Linked DNA regions of Homo sapiens: region 1 is linked to region 2. The links are contacts of gene promoters, found by promoter capture Hi-C in blood cells and fetal thymus (Javierre and others, 2016). All regions are on one chromosome and are shown on one strand. The core of a region is centred on a gene start or on the middle of the fragment in contact, and the rest is flanking DNA. Distances in the headings are between cores, read along the strand shown.

What was found. Contacts are between HindIII fragments. The CHiCAGO score rates a contact against its expected background, and 5 or more counts as called.
Region 1: a fragment that was not itself captured here is called in contact with the fragment with the promoter of FBXO21 in region 2 in 1 of 17 cell types (non-activated CD4 T cells); the score reaches 5.3 in non-activated CD4 T cells.

What each region holds. Positions count from the first base shown.
Region 1 is chr12:118,018,235-118,023,047 of GRCh38, forward strand. It overlaps RFC5 (replication factor C subunit 5), which reads left to right. Exons shown (of 11, transcript NM_007370.7): 2 at 838-902; 3 at 1,398-1,534; 4 at 2,672-2,751; 5 at 4,052-4,125. Among named protein-coding and RNA genes, the nearest start is that of RFC5, 3.9 kb to the left of the region's middle. The HindIII fragment of the contact is 6,314 bases long and covers 1-4,525 here.
Region 2 is chr12:117,188,960-117,193,548 of GRCh38, forward strand. It overlaps FBXO21 (F-box protein 21), which reads right to left and starts at 1,511. Exons shown (of 12, transcript NM_015002.3): 1 at 1,259-1,511; 2 at 268-403. The coding sequence starts at 1,497. RefSeq lists an enhancer at 638-727 and silencers at 1,198-1,247, 1,528-1,627, 1,668-1,727. The HindIII fragment of the contact is 6,345 bases long and covers 239-4,589 here.

The DNA.
Region 1 (4,813 bases), core at 119-2,618, 830 kb after region 2:
TGGGTAGGAGTTCAGTTTCAAATGCACTTTGCAATAGTAGGTGCCCATCAGGTTGAGATTATAGGCAAACAGCTGGAAAGATGAAGTTAGAACAGAGTTTTCAACCTCAGCACTATTGACATTTTGGGCCAGATACTCTGGGTGGGTTTAGGGGAGCTGTCCTGTGCACTGTAGCATGTTTAACAGCATTCCTGGAGACTACACACTGAGTGCCATAGGACCCTCTGCCCACCTGTGACAACTAAGTATGTTTCTAGATATCACTAGATGTTCCTAGGAAGACAAAATCACCTGTGGTTGGGAACCACTGGTCTGTTCAAACTTAAAGTGCTTTCTTATTCTTCCTTTTTAAATTAGGATATGAAAGGATTCTGTTTTTTTTTTTAAGACAAGGTCTCACTCTGTCGCCCAGGCTGGAGTGCTGGAGTGCAGTGGTGCAATCTCGGTTCACTGCAACCTCCGCCTCCCGGGTTCCAGCAATTCTCCCACCCCAGCCTTCGGGGTAGCTGGGGCTACAGGGGTATGCCACCATGCCCAGCTAATTTTTGTATTTTTTGGTATTTTTTATTGAATGGCATATTATCGGGTTAGCAGACACCCTGTTAGTTGTTCTATCCTTACAAAGACCCTAGGAGGTACCCATAGAGACAGGGTTTTGCCATGTTGGCCGGGCTGGTTGGTCTTGAACTCCTGACCCCAAATGATCCACCCACCTTGGCCTCCCAAAGTGCTGGGATTACAGGCATGAGCCACTGTGCCTGACCTGCAAGGATTCTTTTGCACATAAAATATTCTTGCATTTATATATGTCATAATACATACTAAATTGTATTTCAGGGTTGAAAAATACCGGCCACAGACCCTGAATGATCTCATTTCTCATCAGGACATTCTGAGTACCAGTAAGTATTCATGTGTCAGTTGCTCTTGTCCTGCTTGAGCGACTTGTATAAATTGCTTGGTGATGTTGTCTCTCCTAAGTAATAACTTCAAAGAATCTGATTGCGCTTTGTAGAATGTGGCTTTAAGATCATTCATTCATTTTCTTCAGGTTGCTACAGTCCAGTGGGTAAGTCACAAACATGAGCATAAAATTGCAACACAGTGGAGTAAAAATAGCATTACGGAGAATCATTTAAGTTCACAGATGTTGCCAGCACCCAGAAAGGTGCCTGTAACACAGTAGGCACTCAATAAATACTTGTTGACTGGCTGCGCTATTGAGTGAATTCCAGTTGTTCCACGAAAGTAGATATGAGGCCCCTACATCAAGTTGTATCTGCCTCTGATTTGGACATTGAATTGGGTTGAAGAGCTTTCAGCCCAACTCAGGAGCCCAGGGTGAATGAGGCAGCTCCCAAAGACTGATGGTGCCCTTCTTCCTTCCTGATCCTCAGTTCAGAAGTTTATCAATGAAGACCGACTGCCACACTTGCTTCTCTACGGTCCCCCAGGGACAGGCAAGACATCTACCATCCTAGCCTGTGCGAAACAGCTATATAAAGACAAAGAATTTGGCTCCATGGTCTTGGAGGTAAATAAGATTGTTCTTACTCTACAAATAACTTAAGAGACTCCAGTCTCTTAATTTCAGTTCTGCTGGTTTTATTTTACTTTAAAAGTAAGTTGCCCCACGGACAGTTAGGAAAGAAGTAAATTTGAATATTTTAATTCCCTTTTTCCTATAATGGTCATTTTGGTCTGGATTAGCGTTGGTCAGCTAGAGGGCAGTTGTAGGGTTTGGCACCTTTTTCTTTGCTCTTGCCAACTTCTCCCCAAACCTTACTTTATGGTGACTTGGTTGCTGCCTGTCTGCCATGGCCCCTCTAGATCAATTCTCCACGTTTCTCCACCATATTCCTGCCTGGAAGGCTGAGCCCTACTGACTATAAGCTCACTTACCCTCTGGCTCCTGGTTGGGTTTGGCCAATAGGGGCCTTGGCAGGGGTGGGGGAAGGAAGTGAGTGATGCCTGGGCCTTCCCTGGGGGCTGACACAGGCTGGCAGCATGGCCCACCTGTAGGGTACATCTCACAGGTGGTACCTTTCCTGCAGCCCTCTCCAGGTGCCTACAGCCACTCCCTTCACTAAGCCCTTCAGGCTCAAGGGTGACAGGTATTGCATAGCCCCATGGTTTTCCTATATCACACCTTTAAAAAGATCTTGTTTAATTCTCTTCAAATTGCTGCATTTGAGTATGCCATCTGTATATTGCTGGGACCTTGACTAATATACTTAGATTCAAAAATCTGAGTATTGTCTATTGCAAGAAAAGTTTAACTTACTTTTTAGACGCAGGTCTCAGAACTTTGCTGCTACTAATGTCCTTATTTCAGTTTATTAAGAACTTGGTAACTTAGGATTGTGGTAGCTGAAATTTGTATCATTCTGCTCATACCAGAGGTGCTGTTCAGTGTAACCATACCAATTAATTATTTCTCCAATTTATGTCAGTCATTGTCCTCAAAGGGTGGGGGTAATATAGCCATCTTTATTAATTTAGTGAATTTTGTGTAAAACTGATTTTTTATTTTATGATGATCTCTTAGCCATCATTAGACATAGAGAGCTAGCCTGCTGAGCTGGACTGATGAGGAAATACACTAACACCAAGAACTCACAGATAGCACAGCAACATGGTTTTTGTTTTGTCTTCTGTCTTCCACATTTAGCTGAATGCTTCAGATGACCGAGGAATAGACATCATTCGAGGACCGATCCTGAGCTTTGCTAGCACAAGGACAATATTTAAGTAAGAATTATTTGTGTAATTTCGCTCCCTTGATTTTGATTAGTAAGATGATATGGGTTAATTTTTTAATCCTCTCCTTAGCCAGTTTATATGGGTTGAAAAAAAAAGTGACTTTGTCCAAAGCAACCATGGAAAAGAGATAAACGAGAGGGATGGTAGTAAGAAGCGTTATAATGCAACTGTTAAAATAAAATGTTATCTACGCTTGTATTAGCAAGTTTGTTTTTTTTTTCTTTTTTTTTTGGAGACAGGGTCGCCCTGTATCGTACAGGCTGGAGTGCAGTAGCATGATCTCGGCTCACTGCAACCTCCACCTCCTGGGTTCAAGCGATCTTCCAGCCTCAGCCTCCTAAGTAGCTGGGACTACAGTCGTGAGCCATCACGCCCAACTAATTTTTGTATTTTTTAGTAGACATGGGGTTTTGCCATGTTGCCTAGGCTGGTCTCGAACTCCTGAGCTCAAGCAATCTGCCCGCCGCAGCCTCCCAAACTGCTGGGATTACATACGTGAGCCCAGCCTGCATTACCAAGTTCTTTAGGGAGCATTAACTTCATTTTTAGTTCCTGAGAACTGGCTAGATTACCCTAAGACTGGATGAGCTAGTTTGAATTTAAAAATAAATTGAGATCAGGAAGGACAACTAGGATGGTGGCTAAAAAAAAAAAAAGAAAGAAAGAAAAAGGGTGAGGGCCGGGCGCAGTGGCTCACACCTGTAATCCTAGGACTTTGGGAGGCCTAGGCAGGTGGATCACCTGAGATCAAGGGTTCAAGACCAGCATGGCCAACATAGTGAAACCTCGTCTCTACTAAAAATACAAAAATTATCTGGGCATGGTGGTGGGCGCCTGTAATCCCAGCCACTCAGGAGGCTGAGGCAGGAGAATCGCTTGAACCCAGGAGGCAGAGGTTGCAGCGAGCCAAGATCGCGGCACTGCACTCCAGCCTGGGCAACAGAGCAAAAACTTAGTCTCAAAAAAAGCAAAAGGGTGAGGGACTCAGGCATGAGTGAGGGAGACGGGAAAAGCAGTAGCATGGTAGGGTGCCATGTGGAGGAAAGTGAAGATGCCAGAGGACACAGCGCACAGAAGTAGAGAAGTCTCCTCCATTCCCACCAAGGGTTGAAGGAGTGATGCGGCATTTCCTCTCTGAGTGACCAAAGATGTCTGCCTTGGCCAAAGTTCTAGAAGAAATTGTCTTTCTGAGACAGGGCCCGATGGCACAATGGGAAGATATAGGTTTGAGCCCAGATGTTGAGATGAGATTGAAGAAATCTTTAGACAGCACCATTTGTTTTTCTAGGAAAGGCTTTAAGCTAGTGATCTTGGATGAAGCAGACGCCATGACTCAGGACGCCCAGAATGCCTTGAGAAGAGGTAAGCAGAGGCACTGTGGAGCGTTTGGGCTGGTGTGCACACTGGAAGGAGAATTAGGAACTTTGTGTTTGTTGCTGTTGTCATTGTTTTTTTAGGCGGGGGGGAGTTTTTTTTTCTTTTTTTGAGTCAGAGTCTTGCTCTGTCACCCAGGTTGGAGTGCAGTGGCGCAATCTTGGCTCACTGCAGCCTCTGCCTCCTGGGTTCAAGCGATTCTCTGACCTCAGCCTCTTGAGTAGCTGGGATTACAGGCATGCACCACCACACCCGGCTGATTTTTATATTTTTAGTAGAGATGGGGTTTCACCATGTTGGCCAGGCTGGTCTCGACCTCCTGACCTTGGGTGATCCGCCCGCCTCGGCTTCCCAAAGTGCTGGGATTACAGGAGAATTAGGAACTTTAAGCTTCCCAAAGTGCTGGGATTACAGGAGAATTAGGATGTGAGATATGGCTTGGCTTGTTTTCAGTTTTCATCTTCTGGCCCAGAGAAATCTCTATGCCTTTCTCTGTGTCTCCCATCTAATGACACAGGCTAGATACCTCTGTAGCGGGACTTCCCCTTCAGCAGCCTAGGGACTAAGCCCTGCGGGGACTTTTAAGTCTGGCCAGTCACTGGTGTTCAACCTCCTTTGACACTGGGTTCAATTTCAGAGTTGGGAATTCATATCTTTCCGTGGGATGGGGTGTGGA
Region 2 (4,589 bases), core at 261-2,760:
TACATTGTGCTGCGTGGGTCCCTCCCTGCTCCCTCCACCCCCACTCTCTCTCTGGCTTTAGAAAAGTAAAGCTGGCACAGACAAATGGCTTCGTGTTGTTGGATAGGAGGAAAAGGACACAATGACTCTTGCAGCCATCTAAGTGAGTAAGGGATTGTGAGAGCATTGAAAAGGGAGATACGAAAAGAGCTGGATGAGCTCATGCCTGCAGACCCAGACACATACACCAGCAAGCCAAAGCTTAGAGCCACATCAACAGATCCTTACGTGCTCTGAAAAGAACCTCTTTGAGAACGAGGCTACAATCTTCCGCGCTTCTAACCCAGCTTTTTGCCGAACTTTATACTCTTCCAACCAATTGACGTAGTCGGTGGGGCTGTAGTGTTTCATAAGGGAAGGCCACCTACGAGGAGAGAAACACCCCCTCAGCTTAACAGAAACTCAAAGGCAGGCGGCCACGAATCCAAGGCAGCCTTGGAAACAGGGACAGCAGTGGCGTCCAGTGGTAAGAGGGACCCCGGCGAGAGACCTAGTTCAAAACCCCACCAGCATTCACTCACTCACTCCCGGTGTGACCTTGGCGTAGCGGCATGAATGATGTCTCCATTCCCCATCTCTAAAATGGGGACAGTTGTAACAACAACAACAATAATAATAATGACAATGACAGTGAGCACTGATTGAGCGCCTCCTAGGAGCCGGGGCCCTGCGTGCGTGCCTCCCGGACATCATCTAATTTAATAAACACGGTGAAAGGTAGGTCTAATGATCACCACCACTCAAAGTCTATGAACGAGGCTCAAAAAAAGGGAAGTCGCTCCCCCCAAGGTCACAGAGGGAGTGTGCAGGGCCAGATTTCATCCTGGGGCCACGCTGAAATCTGTGCCGTCCACAACCAGCCCGGGGATGCTGCGCCCGCCCGATCGATGCATCACTGGGTCCATGTAAACATTTCAGCCCGAAGTCGGGCACAAAAGAAGCGCGCAAAAGGGACGAGCCGCGCCGCCGCCAGCGTCACCCTTGACGGAGGACCCGGCTGCGAGGCGCTCCTAGATGCGCCATTTGGGGACCCGGGGGTCCGCCTGGCGTGGCCCCGCAGGGTCCGGGGCCTGGAGGCCTTTGTCTGTCTGTCCGCGGGAAGGGGTCCGGGGTGGGGTCCGCGCGCGGGGCGGCCGCGGGGAGCTAGCGGGGCGGCTGCCCGGCCCCGGGGGGCGCGGGGCGGTGGGCGCGCAGCCGGGGCGCGGGGCCGCTGGCTCACCTCACCCGGAACTGCTCCTTCCACACCTTCCCGCTGCTCTGGCACAGCTCGCGCAGCCGCCGGCAGGTGCTGGAGACACGGCCGATGTCGGCGGCCGTCAGCGAGCCGCAGCACAGGATGTACTCCAGCACCTCACCCGGCAGGTTGACGAGGCAGCTGAGGCCCGCTACCTCCGGCGCGGCCTCCTCCGCCAGCGCCGGCACCACCTCCATCGCGCTGTCGACTGCTGCCGCCGCCATCTTGTCCGCGTACCTGGGGCCGCCGCGCGCGCGCGTGCGAGAGTGCCCGGGCGCCCCGCCTGGCCCCGCCTACTGGTCTTGGGGGCGAGTCCTGAGATCGCTCCGCCCATCCGCGGGCCACACCTCCCCTGCATCGGCTGGGGGCTGCGCGGGTGGCAGCGCCGCAAAAGGGAGGACATAATTGGGCTCTGTGCTTGGAGCCGGCAGCGCAAGCCGCCTCTAGTCCGGGACAACAATAGTAGCACTGATTCTTTTAAACGTAATTAATGTTTAAAATTAACAAATAAAAATGGTATCTATTCTCACGCGTGCTGAGCGCTTTCTGTGCGCATTGGACCTTTCCGAATTACCCTGCGAACTTTCTCCCCATATTACAGATGGGGAAACAGGTTCGGAGAGTGAGAGGGCTTGCTCAGGATCCCTTGTCTTGGATTTTTTTTCCCCCTTTGGGAAGGAGTCTTGCTCTCACCCAGGCTGGAGGGCAGTGGCGCTATCTCGGCTCACTGCAACCTCTGCCTCCTGGGTTCAAGCGATTCTCCTGCCTCAGCCTCCCGTGCGGATGGGATTACAGGCGCGCGCCACCACCCAGGTTGGAGTGCAGTGGCCGTGATCTCGGCTCACTGCAACTTCCACCTCCCTGGTTCAAGCAATTATCCTGCGTCAGCCTCCCGAGTAGCTGGGATTACAGGCGCCCGCCACCACAGCCAGCTAATTTTTGTATTTTTAGTAGAGACAGGGTTTCACCATGTTGGTCAGGCTGGTCTCGAACTCCTGACCTCAAATGATCCACCCACCTCGGCCTCCCAAAGTGCTGGGATTACAGGCGTGAGCCACCGCGCCCAGCCCCTTGTCTTGGATTCTATTTCAGATCCACTTGACTTTTGCTTGTCAGTAATCTTAACCATATGATGTAATAATAACAATATTCTTGAGTGGGTGCTATGGGAAGCCCTCTATGATGGTGTAGGGGAGTAATAATAATCCTCAAATGTGTGCCCTGATTTTAGGCTAATAGAGGGCAGGCAGAGAGCTCTCCTGTACTGGTTTCTTAATTGTTTCCAGCTCAACAATCCTTCATATTTGGGGAGCATAGTCTGACCTCCCACAATAGGTACCACAGTTATACCTATTCTACAGAAAAGGCAAAGTTCTTCCAGGTGGCAGTCACTGGTTCAAAGTTACAGAGACAAAAGTGCTAAAGCCTGGATTTGAGTCTTCAAAGCGGGAGTTATCACTCAGGATTGGGAGGGTAGTCTCAGGATCTGCACATTAAAAAAAAAAAATCAGTTTAGTTCAGTGCCAAAGCCCTGTGTTGTGTGCCCTGGGGATACAGGGGTGAGAAAAATGGAGTCTTTGCTTCAAAACCTCAAAGTGCAATTACAGTTAGAAGGATCTGTTGTCAGTACATGGAGGGTCCAATGAAGTACTCCTGGCAACTTGGAAATCAAGATGCCCTGAGAGAGCTGAACTAGTAAAGTGACTCTCAATGGATGGCGTTGAGCCATCTGTGGCTCCCTATTTCCCGTAGAAATGAATGTGACATCCCAAACATTGTTGCAAAGCAACAAACTCCACCTCTTCTTACCTATCTGAAGTCTTTCTCTCTCACTAGCCATGCATACCCCAGCAAGGCTGGTCATCTCTTTCCTCCCATTTCTGGCCCTACATATACTATTCCTGCTGCCTGCAAGGCACTTCATGCAGTCCTCCCCTTCCAGTAGCTCCTCCTCTTCCTCCAGGGCTCAGCTTAACCTTTCCAAATGCTCTCCCTTCCCCCGCCCCAGCACCAGCACCAGATATGGCTCCTGCCCAGCATTTTGCAGTCTTGTAATTACTTAACTTACAACTATTCAACATGCATCTTTCCCACTAAATCTGAAGGGAGTTCAGTGCTAGGACTGTGTCTGAGTCACCTCTAGAAGCCTAGTTACTTGACCCATGCCCTGCACAGAGCAGATTCTCAATTATCTATTGATTGCGATAGTCTAACCAGCTGTTTGACTAGGGAAGTTACTTAGCCTTTCTGAGGCCCAGTTTTTTATCTGTAAAATGGGAATAATAATTAATAATAATAATGCCTGTCTCCTGGGGCTGTCATGAGAATTAAATGAGGAAATTCATGTGAGGGGCATAGAACAGTGGCTGGTATAGAAAAAATCCTTGAGCCGGATGCGGTAGCTCACACCTGTAATCCCAGCACCTTGGGAGGCCAAGGCAGGCAGATCACCTGAGGTCAGGAGTTCGAGACCAGCCTGACCAACATGGTGAAACCCCATCTCTACAAAAATGCAAAAACTAGCCGGGCATGATGCCAGGTGCCTGTAATCCCAGCTACTTGCGAGATTGAGGCAGAAGAATCGCTTGAACCAGGGAGGTGGAGGTTGCAGTGAGCCGAGATCATGCCTTTGCACTCCAGCCTGGGTGACAGAACAAGATGCTGTCTCAGAAAAAACGAAACGAAAAAAAAATTGCTTGACAAAACTGTGTGGGAAGCAGGGAGAAATGGCTCAATGGATATGGGTTTTTTGGTTTGTTTGTTTGTTTTTTGAGGCAGAGTCTCACTCTGTTGCCCACGCTGGAGTGCAATGGCACGATCTCGGCTCCCTGCAACTTTGGCCTCCTGGGTTCAAGAGATTCTTCCGCCTCAGCCTCCCGAGTAGCTGGGATTACAGGAGCATGCCACCATGCCTGGCTAATTTTTGTATTTTTGTAGAGACAGTTTCACCACGTTGGCCAGGCTGGTCTTGAACTCCTGACCTCATGATCTACCTGCCTCGGCCTCCCAAGGTGCTGGGATTACAGGTGTGAGCCATCGTGCCTGGCCTGGATATGGATTTACTTTGGGGTGATGGAAATGTTTTGGAAGTAGATAGAGGTGGTGGTGGTGGTTGCACAGCATTGGGAATATACTAAATGCCACTGAATTGTTCTCTTTAAAATGATTAAATTTTACCAGCATGGCGGCTTAAACCTGTAGTTCCAGTTACTCGGGAGGCTGAGGTGGGAGGATCACTTGAGCCTAGGTGTTCAAGGTTGCAGTGAACTATGACTACACCATTGCACTCCAGCCTGGGTGACAGAGCAAGACAAGA